2 separate regions of the Homo sapiens genome follow, and region 1 is linked to region 2. The links are contacts of gene promoters, found by promoter capture Hi-C in human tissues and cell types (Jung and others, 2019). All regions are on one chromosome and are shown on one strand. Each heading gives the region's core, a stretch centred on a gene start or on the middle of the fragment in contact. The rest is flanking DNA. Distances are from core to core; before and after follow the strand shown.

Region 1 (6,437 bases), core at 1,406-3,905, 38 kb before region 2:
CAGGCTGGAGTGCAATGGCGCCCAGGCTGGAGTGCAATGGCACGGTCTTGGCTCACTGCAACCTCCGCCTCCCAGGTTCAAGCGATTCTCCTGCCTCAGCTTCCCGAGTAACTGGGACTCCAGGTGCGTGCCACCACACCCAGCTAATTTTTGTATTTTTAGTAGAGACGGGGGTTTCACCATGTTGGCCAGGCTGGTCTTGAACTCCTGACCTCGTGATCCACCCACCTCGGCCTCCCAAAGTTCTGGGATTACAGGCGTGAGCCACCACACCTGGCCCTCCCACTTGACTAATCTTCTTCAACTATGTCTATCCTGCTATTAAAGCCATATATTAACATCTAAATTCAATTATTGTATTTTTCAAATCTAGAATTGATCTTGCTTCTCTTTCAAATATGCTGTCAAACTTTATAATGTTCAACACTTAAGCTTGTTTTTTTGCTGTTACTGGTTTTTGCTTTTTTTTTCTTTTTTTTGAGATGGAGTCTTGCTCTGTCGCCAGGCTGGAGTGCAGTGGCTCGATCTCAGCTCACTGCAACCTCCACCTCCTGCGTTCAAGCGATTCTCCTCTCTGTCTCCCGAGTAGCTGGGATTACAGGCGACCACCACCACACCTGGCTAATTTTTGTATTTTTAGTAGAGACGGGGTTTCACCATATTGGCCAGGCTAGTCTCAAACTCCTGACCTCGTGATCTGCCTGCCTCGGTCTCCCAAAGTGCTGGGATTACAGGCGTGAGCCACCGTGCCTGGCCGTTTTTTTTTTTTTTTTTCTTTGAGACAGAGTCTTGTTCTATCGCCCAGGCTGGAGTGCAGTGGCAAGATCTCTGCTTACTGCAACCTCTGCTTCCTGGGTTCAAGCGATTCTCCTGTCTCAGCCTCCTGAATAGCTGGGATTACAGGCGCCTGCAACCACGCCCAGCTAATTTTTGTATTTTTAGTAAAGATGAGGTTTTACCATGTTGGCCAGGCTAGTCTCGAACTCCTGACCTCAGGTGATCTACCTGCCCCAGCCTCCCAAATTGCTGGGATTACAGGTGTGGGCCACTGTGCCCAGATCTTCTTTTTTTATTTTTTTGAGACAGAGTCTCTCTCTGTCACCCCAGGCTGGAGTGCAGTGGTGTGATCTCGGCTCACTGCAACCTCTGACTTCTGTGTTCAAGTGATTCTTCTGACTCAGCCTCCTGACCAGCTGGGATTACAGGTGCATGCCACCGCTCCTGGCTAATTTTTGTATTTTTAGTAGAGACAGGGTTACACCATGTTGTCCAGGCTAGTCTCAAACTCCTGGCCTCAAGTGATCAGCCTGCCTCGGTCTCCCAAAGTGCTGGGGTTATAGGCCTGAGACACCATGCCTGGCCTATGGAATGTTTCAAATTATCCTTGTGTGATGGATGTTGTACTTGAAAAATTATTTATAAAAATAATTGGAGGCCAGGCACGGTGGCTCATGCTTGTAATCCTAGCACTTTGGGAGGCTGAGGCGGGTGGATCACCTCAGGTCAGGAGTTTGAGACCAGCCTGGCCAACATGGCGAAACCCTTCTCTACTAAAAATACAAAAATTAGCTCGGCATGGTGGCACATGCCTGTAATCACAGTTACTCGGGAGGCTGAGGCAGGAGAATCACTTGAACCCAGGGGGCAGAGGTTGCAGTGAGCCAAGATCATGCCACTTCGTTCCAGTCTGGGTGAAAAAGCAAAACTGTCTCAAAAAAAAAAAAAAAATTGGAGGCCTCAGATATTATTCTCTTCCAAAGAGTATTTTCATTTGCTTTTGCCACATGCCTTGGCACAAGTCCTACAGTACATTATGGCAATTTCAGGGCTTGAAATTTCTACAATATCCAAATGATTCAAAGCCAGATCATAATCTATATGAGGTCTGATTTACTGCCTATTTACCCTTACCTCTTTCTTGGCTCTGGACTCTAATTTTTGCCTAACCGTACAAAGTTTTCAAAAGTGCTGTTCATCCTGTCTCCCCAGCCATGTTGTAAACTTTTATTTGTTTTGACTTCTTATGCCACATTTAGCACAGGGTCTGGGCAGACAATAGACTGCTTGAATGTTCAATGAATGAATGAATAGATAAATTGATATGGCGGAGAGGGAGGGAAGCACACAAACCACTAACAATGTCTCGTATATGTTCATGTACATTCAAAATAATCTGAAAACCTATGTCAAAATATCTTTTCTTGTTTGTACAACATTATTTGAGGCCTGGCGACGTGTTTCATGCCTGTAGTCCCGGATACTTGGGTGGCTGAGGCAGAAGAATTGCTTGAATCTGGGAGGTAGAGGTTGCAGTGAGCCGAGATCATACCACTGCACTCCAGCCTGGGTGAGAGAGCAAGACTCCATCTCAAAAAGAAACAAGTAAAACAAAACAAAATATATGACGGCTGGGTGTGGTGGCTCACGCCTGTAATCTCAGCATGTTGGGAGGCGAAGGTGGGCAGATCACTTGAGGCCAGGAGTTCAAGACCAGCTTGGGGGCCAGGTGCGGTGGCTCACGCCTGTAATCCCAGCACTTTGGGAGGCTGAGGCAGCTGGATCACAAGGTCAGGAGATTGAGACCATCCTGGCTAATATGGTGAAACCCCGTCTCTACTAAAAATACAAAAAATTAGCAGGGCATGGTGGCGGGAGCCTGTAGTTCCAGCTACTCGGGAGGCTGAGGCAGGAGAATGGCGTGAACCCAGGAGGCGGAGCTTGCAGTGAGCCAAGATCTCGCCACTGCACTCTAGCCTGGGCGACAGAGCAAGACTCAGTCTCAAAAAAAAAAAAAAAAAAGACCAGCTTGGTCAACATGGTGAAACTCCATCTCTACTAAAAATACAAAAATTAGCCAGGTGTGGTGGCATACACCTGTAGTCCCAGTTACTCAGGAGGCTGAGGCATGAGAATTGCTTGAACCCAGAAAGCAAAGGTTGCCCTGAGCCGAGATCACACCATTGCACTCCAGCCTTGGCAACAGACCAAGACTCCACCTCCAAAAAAAAAAAAAAATTTGGCTTTCTAAAATTTGATTATAGACCTCTATCTTTCTTGTAACACAGAACATGTACTGGTTAAGAATACTGGCTCTAGAGTTAGATCTCTGTTATTTATTAGTTGTGTGACGTTTGACAACTTTATCTTTCTAAATCTGTTTCCTGAGACTTAGTAAAATGGAGACAGCCACACTATCTTCCTCACAGTAGTAGTTGTAAAATTTACGTGAAGTAACTTATGCAAACTCATGGCATAATACTTGGCATATAGTAGACAATGACTAATTTTAACTACTACTATTATAAATATCTTTATTTTATTTTTTGAGACAGAATGTTGCTCTGTCCCTCTGTCGCCGAGACTGGAGTGCAGTGGCGCGATCTCCGCTCACTGCAGCTCCGCCTCCTGGGTTCATGCCATTCTCCTGCCTCAGCCTCCTGAGTAGCTGCCTGCCACCATGCCCGGCTAATTTTTTGTATTTTGGTAGAGACGGGGTTTCACCATGTTAGCCAGTATGGTCTTGATCTCCTGACCTCGTGATCCGCCATCCTCAGCCTCCCAAAATGCTTGGATTATAGGCGTGAACCACCACACCTGGCCATAAATATCTTTATTTTAAAGTGACCTGTGGTCGGGCACGGTGGCTCACGCCTGTAATCCCAGCACTTTGGAAGGCCGAGGAGGGTGGATCACAAGGTCAGGAGATCGAGACCATCCTGGCCAACATGGTGAAACCCCATCTCTACTAAAAATACAAAAAAATTAGCTGGGCATGGTGGCTCGTGCGTGTAATCCCAGCTACTCTGGAGCCTGAGGCAGAAGAACCGCTTGAACCAGGGATTTGGAGGTTGCAGTGAGCCGAGATCACACCACTGCACTCCAGCCTGGCGACAGAGTGAGACTCCATCTCAAAAAAATAAATAAAAAAAATAAAAAAATAAAGTGACCTGTGGCTGGACATCATGGCTCACGCCTGTAATCCCAGCACTTTGGGAGGCCTAGGCAGGCAAATCAACTGAGGTCACGAGTTTGAGACCAGCCTGGCCAACATGGTGAAACCCCGTCTCTACTAAAAATACAAAAATTAACCAGGCATGATGTTGCATGCCTGTTATCCCAGCTACTTAGGAGGCTGCGGCAGGATACTCACTTGAACCCGGGAGGCAGAGGTTGCAGTGACCCGAGATCGTGCCACTGCACTCCAGCCTGGGTAACAGAGTAAGACTCTGTCTAAAAAAAGAAAGAAAAAAAAGTGACCTGAAGCATTTGGAGTGTTCATGCAAAGTTGTTTTTTATTTTTGGGCAGGGGGTGGGTTTGCATTTTTTGGACACAGAGTCTCATTCTGTCACCCATGCTAGAGTGCAATAACGTGAGCTCGGCTCACTGCAGCTTCTACTTCCCAGGTTCAGGCGATTCTCATGCCTCAGCCACTCGAGTAGTTGAGATTACAGACTCCCTTTACAAGAAGAATATATTAGGAGTGAGGGAGAATTTCCTCACTACATGCAGAGTCTTGAAGAATGCTGTCACTTAGCAAAGAAATAGGAAAGCAAGTGTGACATGAGGATTTATGATGGCCATGGCTAGAGCGTGCTCCTGTACGTGCCAAACATCATGCTCACAAGTGATGTCTTTGATCCAGCCCTGCTCAGCCAGAGGCCTCTGCTGCTGGACAGGGGCCCTTTGTGGCTACTCCTGGGTCTTCTCCTTTTATTCTTTTCTTCCTATGGCGGTAAGAACTCAGTTCAACTTGAGTCCCCTAAAGGCTATTGTAAGAATTAAAGAAAGAGGAAAGAAATACGAAAGGTGGCTTGCCAGTCTATTTTAGAGAATTATTTTAGAGAAAATAAACCTGAGAGGAGCTTCTGGCTGAGTTAGATCAGAGGCCCACTCTCTTACAGACCAAGAGTTTTTAAGGATTCAGGGTGGGAGAGTTTATCAGAGGCTTGGACTGCTTCTGTGTCTCTTTGTTGTGCTTATCTGGGAGGGAGAGTTGTATGTCTGTTCCCATACATCTTTGTGCAGCTGCAGGCATATCCCCCCAGTCTGCCTTTAGCTTTCCTATCTTAGTGCACCTGAAGGGAAAGGAATGTGCTTATTAAGGCCCACTGTTTTACTGGGGTCCATTGTATGAGGGTGAAGTTTGGCAGTTACCCAAGAGACTTTTCCTCCACCTCCCTATGTGCCTGAGCTGTCTTATCTGTGTTTTGCTGTCTGCTCTTTCTGTCTGCTTGTAGTTAGAAGAGAAGTGATTTCCTTGAAATGCATGAGGCTAGAAAGGGAGCTGGAACTTAAAGTGGCGGTGTTCGTCCCAGATGAGGGTGCTCCTGCTCTATCAGCTATGACTCTTCCATTTTCTTCCCTCAGGATTTCATCATTCAGAATCTGAAAAGAAATTCTTCTTATTTTCTGGGGCTGTCAGATCCAGGGGGTCGGCGACATTGGCAATGGGTTGACCAGACACCATACAATGAAAATGTCACGTGAGTATAGAATGAGGTAAAGGACACTGGGTCCTGATCATGTAGGGGTTTAGGGTGTTCCATCAGCTATTAAGCAAACAAACAATAAAACCCACAACACTTTTTAAAACCTAGGTCTATTTGACATCAAGGGTTGTGCTTTTTTTTTTTTTTTTTTAGACAAGAGTCTCACTCCATCACCCAGGCTAGAGTGCAGTGGTATGATCTTGGCTCACTGCAACCTCTGCCTCCTGGGTTCAAGTGATTCTCCTGCCTCAGTCTCCTGAGTAGCTGGGATTACAGGCATGTGCCACCACACGCAGCTAATTTTTGTAATTTTAGTAGAGATGGGTTTCACCATGTTGGCCAGGCTGGTCTCAAACTCCTGACCTCAAGTGATCCACCTGCCTTGGCCTCCCAAAGTGCTGAGATTACAGGTGTGAGCCACCATCCCCGGCCATTTATGTATTTCTTTACAAATTTTAAAGCACTTTAGTACAGATTACCACTTTTAACATTTGTATCAACTATGTCAAATACGTAAGGACATTGTTCTAGTTCCCATTTTTTCAGATAGAAGAACTGAGAATCAGGGAAATTAAATTACTTGCACTAAATAACAGAGACTAAGTAGCAGATCCAGGGAATTTACCTAGTTCTTCAGACTCCAAAAGCAGTGCATAGAACCTGATTAATACTTGTGACTAGGGAAAAAAAATATTTGAATCATTTAACTCTGTGAGTTGGAATTTCTATGGCAATTGGACATAGGGATGGCTAAACTGAAGGAATCCTCTTGGACATCTGCCAGTAGGATGTTCAACATATGCTTGAGTTGATTAAGATGACAGAGTACTAGGTCATATGGGAACAGTTTTCAGGGGAAATACCAGAGACACAAGTGGAGAGGAAACTGCCTGAACATGAGGTTTTACAAAACGTGGCAGCAGAAGTGAGAAGGTGGTTTGGGTAGA
Region 2 (7,080 bases), core at 133-2,632:
GATTACCTGAGGTCAGGAGTTTGAGACCAGCCTGACCGACATGGAGAAACCCCGTCTCTACTAAAAATACAAAAGTAGCCGGGCATGGTAGCGCATGCCTGTAATCCCAGCTACTAGGGAGGCTGAGGCAGGAGAATTGCTTGAACCTGGGAGGCAGAGGTTGTGGTGAGCTGAGATCGTGCCATTGCACTGCAGCCAGGGCAACAAGAGCGAAACTCCGTCTCAAAAAAAACAAAAAAACAAAAAAACTGTAATGGATGCCCAAGTATGGCTCAGTGGGAGAAAGAAGTATCTCAATCTATTTTGGTGAGTCGAAACTGTGGAAGTAGAGGTGACCTTTGAACTTGGTCTGTGTAAAGGCTCTGAGATGAAATGAGCTCACAGAGCTACAAATAGGTCAATGTAATTAGAGCATCCACACTAAGGATGGTGGGTGGTGAGAAACAAGGCTGGCGGCTGGGTGTAGTGGCTCATGCCTACAATCCCAGCACTTTGGGAGGCCGAGGTGGGAAGACTGCTTGAGACCAGGAGTTCAAGACCAGTCTGGACAACATGGCAAGGCCCCATCTCTGTAAAAAATAAAACAATTAGCTGGAAGTGGTGCCCTATGCCTGTAGTCTCAACTACTCCAGAGGCTGAGGTGGGATGATCTCTTGAGCTCAGGGGGTCGAGGCTTGCAGTGAGCCAAGATCAGGCCACTGCACTCCAGCCTGGGCAACAGAGCGAGACCCTGTCTCAAAAATAAATAAATACATAAATAAAAATAAAAATAAAAATAAAATAATGAAATCTACTTGAGTATTTGTCTAATCCAGGGGTGTCCAATCTTTTGGCTTCCCTGGGTCACATTGGAAGAAGAAGAATTGTTTTGGGCCACACGTAAAATATACTAACACTAATGATAGCTGATGAGCTTAAAAAAATCACAAGAAAGTTTCATAATGTTTTACGGAAGTTTATGAATCTGTGTGGGGCTGCATTCAAAGCCATCGTGAGCCTCATGTGACCCTCCGGCCGCAGGTTGGACAAGCTTGGTCTATGTAGATGATTAATTACAAGTCTATGAATTATTCACTGCTCTATTCCTAGCACCTATCTCAGCACCGTGCACATAATAGATGCTTAGTAACTGTTTGTTAAATGAATAAATGCATGTCTCCTTTTCACTCTGTCTACTGCTGACAACCTCACATTGTTGTAGAATTTATGTCCATGCATTGGTAATCTTTGTTCTGTGAACTTTTTCCTGGAAGAGTAGAGCAAGAGAAGAGAAAAAAAAATTCCCTCTTCACATCCAATGGCCTTTGAGGAGCTGGGAAGAGAGCAATTCACACTTGATTATCTTACATCAGATAAATTAGCAGCCTCTGAATTGTTGGGCAGTCTGGCAGTGGAGCTCTCCCCGGTCTGACAGCCACTCCAGAGGCCATGCTTCGTTTCTTGCCAGATTTGGCTTTCAGCTTCCTGTTAATTCTGGCTTTGGGCCAGGCAGTCCAATTTCAAGAATATGTCTTTCTCCAATTTCTGGGCTTAGATAAGGCGCCTTCACCCCAGAAGTTCCAACCTGTGCCTTATATCTTGAAGAAAATTTTCCAGGATCGCGAGGCAGCAGCGACCACTGGGGTCTCCCGAGACTTATGCTACGTAAAGGAGCTGGGCGTCCGCGGGAATGTACTTCGCTTTCTCCCAGACCAAGGTAAGGAAATAGAGTGTTATCCAGAAAAACATCTGGAACTGGGTGGTGTGAAGAAAGGAAAGGACAATAGGAAATGACAATTACTGATGGCCTTGTGCTGGTATTTTTCATATTTTGTCTCATTTAATTCCAGCCACGATCCTGAGAGGAAGTTAGATATTCTTATCAAGTTCCTAACAGTAAGGAAATTAGGCTCAGACAGTAGGTAACCTGTAATCTATTCAAGATCATACAGCTAGTGTGTGAGAACAAAGTCAGGATTTGAAATAGGTTTTTGTTTTCTGAATCAACTGCTTTGTGCTTCAGTTGAGATGAAAGAGGTGAGGGAGGAATCAGAGCTCAGTCTCCCACCCTGCAGCCCATATATACACATCCTGCCGTCTTCCATGTGGCAAGCAGGGTATGAAAATTTTGAGGTTGGTTTGCCCAGGAGTCCTGCTTCCCTTATTTGTACCTCCTGGCTACTCTTGTTGGGTGGCAAAGGTTATTCTAGATTTGTGAATAGAGAGCAATAATATATACAACTGTCATATCCTTTTAAAAGGATCTCAGTGAGTGGGATCCAGTACTTTCCCAAACTGACCACCCACCAAATAACTTAGGTCTTCCATTAACAGTAGATCCTCCAACCCCATTCCTGCCCCTAGTTCTCCCCACCCAATTCTTATTCAAAGTCTGAAATGGGTGTTGAGAATCTGCATGTCTATACAACCTCCCGGGTGTTTCAGATGCAGAATTTAGAGCCTTGGTTAGTTTTACAGCAACTGGAGAGAAGATTTGAATATTTATTTGTCCAAGAAGCACTTATTGGATACCTATGGTGAGCCAGGAACTGTGTATGGCCTTGAGAATACAAGATAAAGTTTGCCTTTTTTTTTTTTTTTTTTTTTTGAGAGTCTCGCTCTGTCCCCCAGGCTGGAGTAGAGTGGCACTTTCTCAGCTCACTGCAACCTCCGCTTCCTGGGTTCAAGTGATTCTTCTGCCTCAGCTTCCCAAGTAGCTGGGATTACAGGCGTGTGTCACCAAGCCCAGCTAATTTTTTAATTTTTTAATTTTTTAGTAGAGACAGGGTTTCACTATATGTTGGCCAGGCTGGTCTTGAACTCCTGACTTCAGGTGATCCGCCTGCCTCAGCCTCCCAAACTGCTGGGATTACAGGCCTGAGCCACCGCACCCAGCCCAGAATTACCTTTTAAAAATGCGTATTGAGTCGTACTGCTCCTCCACGTAAAATTCTCGTCTGCAAAATTCTGCAAGAGTTGACCCACCATGCCCTGCCTGTTCTGACCCTGCTGCTTACTTCCCCAGTCTCACCTTTTACACCCTCTCCTTGCACACTCAACTCCAAGCTCATAGTAGTCTATTCCTTCTAGAGCATGCACTCTTGTCTCATCCTCACACGTGCTGTATCCAGGCTGCCTGAAGTACTCCCTCAGAATTTGCCTGGTCAAGTACTTCAGGCTTTTCTTCTTCTTCCTCTTGTTCTTCCTCTTTTTGTTTTTTCCCCTTGAGACAGGTCTTGCTGTGTCACCCAGGCTGGACTGCAGTGGCACAATCTCGGCTCACTGCAGCCTCCACCTCCTGGGCTCAAGCGATCTTCCCACCTCAGCCTGCCGAGTAGAGTAGTTGGAACTACAGGCTACAGGTGCACGCAACCACGCCAGGCTGATTTTTGTACTTTTTTATAGAGATGAGGTCTCACCATGAGGCTGGTCTCTAACTTCTGAGCTCAGGCAATGGCCTGCCTTGACCTCCCAAAGTGCTGGGATTATAGGCATGAGCCACCATGCCCAGCCAAATTTTGTTAGGTTTTGAATGATGCTTGAGAATGAAGAGGTGTGGTGGTGGGGTGCTTAAGAGTGTTTCGGTTTGAGTTGTAATTTCTCCCTAAGCTGAATGACCTCAGAAAATACCTACTTAAGGCTGGGCGTGGTGGCTCACACCTGTAATCCCAGCACTTTGGGAGGCCGAGGCAGGCAGATCACGAGGCCAGGAGTTCGAGACCAGCCTAGCCAACATGGTAAGGCCCTCCCCCCACTCCCCTGACCCCCGTCTCTACTAAAAATACCAAAAAAAAAAAAAAAAAAAATTAGCCAGGTGTGGTGGCGGGCGCCTGTAATTCCAGCTACTCTGGAGGCTGAGGCAGGAAAATCGATTGAACACCCGGGAGGCAGAGGTTGCTGTGAGCCAAGATCGCACCACTGCACTCCAGCCTGGGTGACAGAGCAAGACTCCATCTCGGGGAAAGAAAAAGAGAGAAAATACCTACTCAAGCGTGAAGTCATTCTACCAAACAAAATGATGGCATTAGAGGCCAAATGAGTTATTTGTGAAAAGGGAGAAATTGAAGATGCAAATAGTAAAAGTAGACTGTATTGGGCCTTTTCCTAGAGGAATAGGTAAAATTTGAAAATTCAGGCAGGAAAGTTAGCTTAGAAAACAGGGAGAGCACATTTGTAACTTCAGAAGAGGGGCATCCATGGACAAAAATCGAAGAATCACATTGTACTTCAATATGAGGAGAGGCTGGGCACAGTGGCTCGTGACTGTAATCCCAGCACTTTGAGACGTGGGAGGATCCTTTGAGCTCAGGAGTTCTCGATAAGCCTAGGCAACATAGAGAGACCCTATCTCTACAAAAACTTAAAAAAAAAATTGGCTGGGTGTGGTGGCTTTTGCCTGTAATCCCAACACTTTGGGAGGCCGAGGTGGGCGGATCACCTGAGGTCAGGAGTTTGAGACCAGCCTGGCCAACATGGTGAAACCCCGTCTCTACTAAAAATACAATTAGCCAGACGTGGTGTGCACCTGTAATCCCAGCTACTCCAGAGGCTGATTCAGGAGAATTGCTTGAACCCGAGAGACGGAGGTTGCAGTGAGCTGAGATCAAGCCAGTGCACTCCAGCCTGGGCAACAGAGCAGGACTCCGTCTCAGAAAAAAAAAAAAAAAATTAAAGCCAATCTGAATGATTGGACTTTGGCCAACAACACCTGACTGTCTAGGTTGCTATTTTTTTTTTTTTTTTAACTGAGACGGAGTTTTGCTCTTGTTGCCCAGGCTGGAGTACAATGGTGTGATATCGGCTCACCACAACCTCTGCCTCCCAAATTCAAGTGATGCTCCTGCCTCAGCCTCCCGAGTAGCTGGGATTACAGGCATGTGCCACCCTGCCCGGCTAATTTTTTTGTATTTTTAGCAGAGACAGGTTTTCTCCATGTTGGTCAGTCTGGTCTCCTGACCTCAGGTTATCTGCCCGCCTTGGCCTCCCAAAGTGCTGGGATCACTGGTGTGAGCCACCATGTCCCGGCCCAGTCTATTGACTCTTTCTCAGAATAATGGTTTAAGTGCCTAAAGTAAAATATTTAGGATTTCAAAAGAAACCAATTAAATATTGAAATACATTTTAAAATTTTTTTAAAACTTTTTTTATTTTTTATTTATTTTTTATTTTTTGAGGCAGAGTCTTGCTCTGTCGCCCAGGCTGGAGTGCAGTGGCGTGATCTTGGCTCACTGCAAGCTCCGCCTCCCGGGTTCACACCATTCTCCTGCCTCAACCTCCTGAGTAGCTGGAACTACAGGCACCCTCCACCTTGCCCGGCTAATTTTTTGTATTTTTAGTAGAGATGGGGTTTTACCGTGTTAGCCAGGATGGTCTCGATCTCCTCATCTCGTGATCCGCCCGCCTCGGCCTCCCAAAGTGCTGGGATTACAGGCATGAGCCACCACGCCTGGCTTTTAAAATATTTTAAAGACAAATGTATATATAGTAATATATATAATGCTTTATTCATGTAATACATAACAAGATTTAGGGAGGTGACTATACCTATAACTACCATAAATTTCGGCATAGTGTTAGCATAAGTGTTTTGTTTTTTTTTTTCTTTTTCTTTTCTTTTATTTATTTATTTATTTTGTAGAGATGGGGTTTCACTATGTTGCCCAGGATGGTCTCAAACTCCTGGCCTCAAGCAAATCTCCCATCTCAGCCTCCCAACGTGCTGGGATTACAGGCATGAGCCACCTTGCCTGGACTCCATAAATATTTTAAGTTATTTGCAACAACTAAACGTATGAACACACCTATGATTTTATTGATAACAATGTCATAGGCCCTGATGATATTACTGGGATTTGTTACCTATATTCATAATGAAGGAAATGCTAAATTTCATTTAGAGTTTAGTGGAAATAATGATGTAATTATTTTTCCCATCTAAGTTCGTGCACCCTCTACATTTCATCCAGGAATCTCTGGGAACCTGTGGATGTGAAGATAAGAACCTCTGGCTTTCTTTTTTTTTTTTTTTGAGACGGAGTCTTGCTCTGTCACCCAGGCTGGAGTGCAATGGCGCGATCTCGGCTCACTGCAAGCTCCGCCTCCCGGGTTCACGCCATTCTCCTGCCTCAGCCTCCTGAGTAGCTGGGACTACAGGCGCCCGCCACCACGCCTGGCTAATTTTTGTATTTTTAGTAGAGACGGGGTTTCACCATGTTAGCCAGGATAGTCTCGATCTCCTGACCTCGTGATCCGCCCGCCTCGGCCTCCCAAAGTGCTGGGATTACAGGCGTGAGCCGCCGCACCTGGGGACCCTCTGGCTTTCAGGAATAGAGAAACAAACCCTCCCAAATGACAGGGCTTGTGTCTTTCCCTGCCCTTATATTGTATATGTGGGTGTCTGGCATTTCTATTATATAGGTGGATATGAAGTAAATACATCATTATGACTCTGACATGTCTCTTTTCCCATCTAGGTTTCTTTCTTTACCCAAAGAAAATTTCCCAAGCTTCCTCCTGCCTGCAGAAGCTCCTCTACTTTAACCTGTCTGCCATCAAAGAAAGGGAACAGTTGACATTGGCCCAGCTGGGCCTGGACTTGGGGCCCAATTCTTACTATAACCTGGGACCAGAGCTGGAACTGGCTCTGTTCCTGGTTCAGGAGCCTCATGTGTGGGGCCAGACCACCCCTAAGCCAGGTAAAATGTTTGTGTTGCGGTCAGTCCCATGGCCACAAGGTGCTGTTCACTTCAACCTGCTGGATGTAGCTAAGGATTGGAATGACAACCCCCGGAAAAATTTCGGGTTATTCCTGGAGATACTGGTCAAAGAAGATAGAGACTCAGGGGTGAATTTTCAGCCTGAAGACACCTGTGCCAGACTAAGATGCTCCCTTCATGCTTCCCTGCTGGTGGTGACTCTCAACCCTGATCAGTGCCACCCTTCTCGGAAAAGGAGAGCAGCCATCCCTGTCCCCAAGCTTTCTTGTAAGAACCTCTGCCACCGTCACCAGCTATTCATTAACTTCCGGGACCTGGGTTGGCACAAGTGGATCATTGCCCCCAAGGGGTTCATGGCAAATTACTGCCATGGAGAGTGTCCCTT

Evidence for each region. Contacts are between HindIII fragments. The study calls those that stand out against the background at their distance.
Region 1: a fragment that was not itself captured here is called in contact with the fragment with the promoter of GDF3 in region 2 in 1 of the 25 tissues and cell types used here (H1 embryonic stem cells).

What each region holds. Positions count from the first base shown.
Region 1 is chr12:7,729,844-7,736,280 of GRCh38, reverse strand. CLEC4C (C-type lectin domain family 4 member C) reads left to right here. Exons shown (of 6, transcript NM_001371390.1): 5 at 5,369-5,484. Among named protein-coding and RNA genes, the nearest start is that of CLEC4C, 14 kb to the left of the region's middle. The HindIII fragment of the contact is 6,238 bases long and covers 1-5,774 here.
Region 2 is chr12:7,690,077-7,697,156 of GRCh38, reverse strand. GDF3 (growth differentiation factor 3) reads left to right here and starts at 1,382. Exons shown (of 2, transcript NM_020634.3): 1 at 1,382-1,696; 2 at 6,453-7,080. The coding sequence starts at 1,429. RefSeq lists an enhancer at 2,901-3,538. The HindIII fragment of the contact is 8,403 bases long and covers 1-6,720 here.